Linked DNA regions of Homo sapiens: region 1 is linked to region 2. Evidence: promoter capture Hi-C in human tissues and cell types (Jung and others, 2019). All regions are on one chromosome and are shown on one strand. The core of a region is centred on a gene start or on the middle of the fragment in contact, and the rest is flanking DNA. Distances in the headings are between cores, read along the strand shown. Region 1 overlaps LIMK1 (LIM domain kinase 1). Region 2 holds the start of LAT2 (linker for activation of T cells family member 2).

What was found. The method cuts DNA at HindIII sites, captures the fragments that hold promoters and counts their contacts. A contact is called where the count stands out against the background at its distance.
Region 1: a contact is called between a fragment that was not itself captured here and the fragment with the promoter of LAT2 in region 2, in 4 of the 25 tissues and cell types used here (aorta, dorsolateral prefrontal cortex, lymphoblastoid cells and 1 more).

What each region holds. Positions count from the first base shown.
Region 1 is chr7:74,087,331-74,090,030 of GRCh38, reverse strand. The region is part of intron 2 of LIMK1 (LIM domain kinase 1); the gene reads right to left. Among named protein-coding and RNA genes, the nearest start is that of LIMK1, 4.9 kb to the right of the region's middle. The HindIII fragment of the contact is 4,301 bases long and covers 1-2,700 here.
Region 2 is chr7:74,208,511-74,211,340 of GRCh38, reverse strand. LAT2 (linker for activation of T cells family member 2) reads right to left here and starts at 1,335. Exons shown (of 14, transcript NM_032464.3): 1 at 1,253-1,335. RefSeq lists silencers at 212-301, 1,412-1,461 and enhancers at 402-521, 1,742-1,851. The HindIII fragment of the contact is 33,709 bases long and covers 1-2,830 here.

The DNA.
Region 1 (2,700 bases), core at 105-2,604, 120 kb after region 2:
CTGGGGACTCACCCCTCTCCTGGTGAGTGATTTGGGACAGGCCACTCCAAAGCCAGGTACACCCATCCTGTAACACGGCTTCCCTCCTGTGGCTTCTGTGGCTCTACTCCTGACCCTCTCTCCATCACCCAAGGCTCCATCTCCCCCCTCACCGCAGACACAGGGGTCCCCAAAGTTCTTCCCTTCATTCGTCTTGGCCCTATCACAAATCCCACTCACCATCTCAGGGCCAGCTCCGAGGCGGCCGTTTTTTCTGACTTTCCTACCTCCAACTGGACTCAGGCTCCCATGGCTAGCTCTGGGCAGGACACAGCCACCATGGATAGCCCATGTCCCCTCCAGCTCAACACAGATGAGCATGTCTCCTCCCCAACATGACCCCCAATTCCATCAGAGTCAACAAACCACCAACTCCCCAGTGCCCAGGTTAGAAAACCAGATGGCTTCAGGTTCCACCCTGCCATTCGCCAGTGCCCATGCCCTCCCCGAAGCCCCTGTCTTTTTCTTTCTTCCTTTCTTTCTTTTTTTTGAGATGGGATTTCACTCTGTCACCCAGGCTGGCTTGCAGTGGTGTGATCATAGCTCACTGCAACCTCCACCTCCCAGGCTCAAGCAACCCTCCCATGTCAGCGCCCTTGAGTAGCTGGGACTACAGGCACCACCACCATGCTCAGCTAATTTTTTTGTAGAGACAAGGTTTCACTATGTTGCCCACACTGGTCTCAAACTCCTGGGCTCAAGAGATCCACCTGCCTCCGCCTCCCAAAGGGCTGGGATTATAGGCATGTGCCACCGCCAGCCCCTGCCTTTCCTACTCTGTGGCGATGTGGAGTGAGAAGGTTTTAGTCCCAGCTCTAGATGTTACAACCTTCAGCGAGGCACTTGATTGCATGGAATCTCTGTTTCTCCCATGCAAACTGGGCACATACAGTCCCTCATAGAGTTATGATGAAGATTTAACAAATTAGCATGAAGAGTGCTCAATGCATGGTAGCCAATATGACAAATACTCACCAAAAACTGTCCCTTCTGCCTGAAATTCTCTCCATCCTCAGTCACTGTCCCAGGTCAGGTCCTATGAGCTCAGACCCTTGAGTTACTGGGACAGTCCCTTCCCTGCCTAGATACCACCACCGGCCCACTGGGATGGCATTCTTCAACAGCATGTCACCCCAGCCCCTCCCTGGCTTTCTGCCGACTCCCTTCTATTTTTTTTTTTTTTTTTTTTTGAGATGGAGTCTCGCTCTGTCTCCCAGGCTGGAGTGCAGTGACGTGATCTCAGCTCACTGCAGCCTCCGCCTCCCAGGTTCAAGTGATTCTCCTTCCTTAGCCTCCCGAGTAGCTTGGATTACAGTCATGTGCCACCATGCCTGGCTAATTTTTGAATATTTAGTAGAGACGGGGGTTTCACCACGTTGGCCAGGCTGGTCTCAAGCTCCTGGGGTCAAGTGATCTGCCTGCCTCGGCCTCCCAAAGTGCTGGGATTACGGGGATGAGCCACCACCCCCATCCTGACTTCTGAAACTCCTTATCTTGGCATTCAAGGCCCTTCACGAATCGGTCTCAACTTTGTTTCTTGTTGGATCCCTCAGCTTATTCTGTTCCTTCCAAGGGAACTGTTCCTGTTCCCTCAGCAGTCCGCACCATCCCACCGCTGTGCAGATGGTTTCCTCTGCCTGTTGAGAGCCCTCTTGCCCCCCGAAGGCCTCTTTCTGAGCACCTGATGCAGAATCCCAGGGCATGCTGTCTGTCTCCTTTCAGCCACACTGAGTGTGTTCATTTCACTCACTGGCTGTGTGACTTTCATCAAGAGAATTAACCTCTCTGTGTCCCAATTTTCTCTCTGGCAAAACAAAGACAGCACTAATATCTAACTATGCAAAGTACTTAGAACAGGGGTTGTCCCTTACTGAATGTTAGAAAACGTTAGACGTTATTCCTAAAAAAGAAAAAACAGGCTGGGCATGGTGGCTTATGCTTGTAATCCCAGCACTTTGGGAGGCTGAGTCAGAAGGATCGCTTGAACCAGTTGGAGCTGGAGGCTACAGTGGGCTATGATCTCACCACTGCACGCCAGCCTGGGTGACACAGCAAGACCCTGTGTAAAAAAAAAGAAAAGAAGAAACAAAAAAACAAACCGAGGCCAGGTGCAGTGGCTCATGCCTGTAATTCCAGCATTTTGGGAGGCTGAGGCGGGCAGATCACTTGAGGTCAGGAGTTCGAGACCAGCCTGGCCAACATGGCAAAACCCTATCTCTACTGAAAATACAAAACTTAGCCGGGCGTGGTGGTGCACACCTGTAATCCCAGCTACTTGGGAGGCTGAAGCAGGAGAATCGCTTGAACCTGGGAGGCGGAGGTTGCAGTGAGGAGGGATCGCGCCACTGCTCCCCAGCCTGGGCGACACAACAAGACTGTCTCAAAAAAACCAAAAACCAAAAAATAAACCAAGGCAGAAGCCTAAAATAAAGTCCTAGTGGTGGATGTCTTGACCCCTGCTGGGCATCCCAGAAGCTTCACCTTCTACCCTTTTATGGAGTTTTCTCCCCTGAACCTTGCTGTTTGGTGACTATGCCTGTAATTCTCTCCCACACCATTTGTTTTTCTTTCTTTCTTTTTTAAAAATTGAGACTGGGTCTCGCTCTATTGCCCAGGCTAGAGTGCAGTGGTGCGATCATAGCTCACTGCAGCCTCCACCTC
Region 2 (2,830 bases), core at 86-2,585:
CACGCCACTGCACTCCAGCCTGGACAACAGAGTGAGACTCCGTTTAAAAAAATTCTGTGCTCTCTCTCTGTCTCTGTCTCCCTTTGTGTCTCTGTCTCGCTCTCACTTTCACTCTCCCATCCAGGTTCTGAAAGCAGGTGGGCTGAGGTGGAGGGAGCGGAGGGTGGACCCTCTGAGGCCCCCAGGGGCCGGCAGGGCTGGGCGGGGTGGGGAGTGGGGGCTGCCACAGACCACGGTTCTGCAGAGGCCAAAATAGCACTAAAGGGAAGTGGGCAGTTTTCATATGAACAACGATTGCCAAGAGCTGGCTTCGGGGAAGTTCTCGGGGCTGGGCTGGAGGAGCTACAGTGTCTGAATCCCGCCTGGAAGGACGCTCGAGACCACCCTGCCGGTTCTCCCAGCCTTCTCCGAGCTGAGCTGTGGTTGGGGACACTGGGGTTGGGGAGGGGGCAGCCTGGCTTGAAGCCCTGGATGGCTTTATCCACTGGACTCTGCTCTGGGGTCTGTTGGTTTTTTCATTTAGTTTTTAATTATATTTTTTTATTTTTATTTTTTAAAGAGATGGGAGTCTCACTATGTTGCTCAGGCTGGTCTCCAGCTCCTGACTTCAAATGATCCTCCCGCCTTGGCCTCCCCAAATGCTGGGATTACAGGTTGAGCCACCGTGCCCGGCTGGTCCTGTTGCTTTTTCCAAATAACTCTGGGCTTCAAATGAGCCTAGCTGGGAGGGAGAGAGGGAGGCGGGCGGGTGCAGGAGGGGCCTGAGCAGCCCTGGTCCCAGGGACAGAGTTGAGGGCCAGGTAGGGGGCTGGGCAGGGAGGCAGTGGGGGTTCTTCACCTGACCTGGGGCAAGACCTGGGCCCTGGCCTGTAATCCCACCGTTTTCCCCTGACCTGTGTAGGGGGTTACAGTCCCATTTCACGGATGAGGAAACCGAGGCTCCCAGGCCAGGGCAGCCACTGTTTTGGCTCTCGGCCACTTACTTCACCAGTCTCTGGCAATGATGGGACCACCCTGGGATGTCCCAAGGCTACACAGGCTGGACAGGGGAAGGCGAGGGCAAGAGAGTGGCCAGAAGCCCAGAAACAAACTGACCCCTGAAGTGCCACAGAGCCTGGTGCCAGGGTGAGAGTGGGGCTGCGGGAGGGGGCGCCAGGCATCCAGGCCTCTTCCCACCCCACCCAGTGGGGCCAGGAGCTCCTGGGGGATGGGGGACAGCCTGAGGACTGAGGCACCCCTGGGAAAGGCTTACCTGAGAGTCCAGGGTTCCTCACCACGGCCGCCCCATCCTGAGCCCGCACACCTGCCCAAGCTGATGCCAACACCACTGACACTGGCGGGCGGGCAGGGCGGGCTTCCTGCCAGCCACTGAATCATCCGTACATCCGCCGCACTGCCGGACAGGCTCAGCTATGAAGAGGGCGGTGGGGGGAAGGGAGGGGAGACGGGGGAAGGAGGCGGGAGAGAGAGAGAGAAGAGAAACAAAGTGAGAGGGAGAAAGAGAAGAAAGAGAGATAGGACCGGGCGAGGTGGCTCACACCTGTAATCCAAAAACTTTGGGAGGCCGAGGCGGGTGGATCACGTAAGGTCAAGAGTTTAAGACCAGCCTGGCCAACATGGTGAAACCCCGTCTCTATTAAAAATACAAAATTAGCTGGGCATGGTGGCATGTGTCTGTAATTCCAGCTACTCGGGAGGCTGAGGCAGGAGAATCGTTTGAACCTCAGAAGCAGAGGTTGCAGTGAGCCGAGATCGCACCACTGCACTCCAGCCTGGGTGACAGAGGGAGACTCCGTCTCAAAAAACAGAAAGAAAAAGAGAGAGACACAGCAGAGAGACACAAGAGAACAGGAAAATATGGACACACACTAAACACACACATAAACACAAAAAGTCACACAGAGAGGAAGAGAGATACACTCCAATAGACAGGGAGCAAGATAATGAAACTGAGGTGCTCCTGCAGATGGCAGATATGGAGACACACATACGCTAAAAAGACACACACAGGCAGAAATTCACACCCATGGGCCGGGCGCGGTGGCTCATGCCTGTAATCCCAGCACTTTGGGAGGCCAAGGCAGGCAGGTCATGAAGTCAGGGGTTCAAAACCAGCCTGACCAACATGGTGAAACCCCATATCTACCAAAAATACAAAAATTATCTGGGTGTGGTGGCGGGTGCCTGTAATCCCAGCTACTCGGGAGGCTGAGGCAGGAGAATTGCTTGAACCCAGGAGGTGGAGGTTGCAGTGAGCCAAGATAGCGCCACTGCACTCCAGCCTGGGTGACAGAGCAAGACTTCATCTCAAAAAAAAAAAAAAAAAGAAGAAGACACACACAGGCAGAAATTCATACCCATGGGCCAGGCACGGTGGCTCATGCCTGTAATCCCAACACTTTGGGAGGCTGAAGCAGGAGAATCACCTGAGGTCTGGAGTTCAAGACCAGCCTGGCCAACATGGTGAAACCCCATCTCTACAAAAAATTTAAAAATTAGCTGGGCATGAGATGGACCAAGACACACACAGAGAGACACACAGAAAGATACAGAGAGCCACAGACTGTCAGAGACACACACAGATGGGGAGAGAGCAAGAAACAGGGAGATAGAGGCCAGGTGCAGTGGCTTGCACCTGCAATCCTAACATTTTTGGAGGCTGAGGCAGGAGGATCGCTTGAGAACAGGAATTTGAGACCAGCCTGGACAACAGAACGAGACCCCATCTCTAAAAAAATTTTTTTAATTAGCTGGGTGTGGTGGCACACACCTGTAGTCCCAGTGTTTTGGGAGGCCAAAACGGGAGGATTTCTTGAGCCCAAGAGTTGGA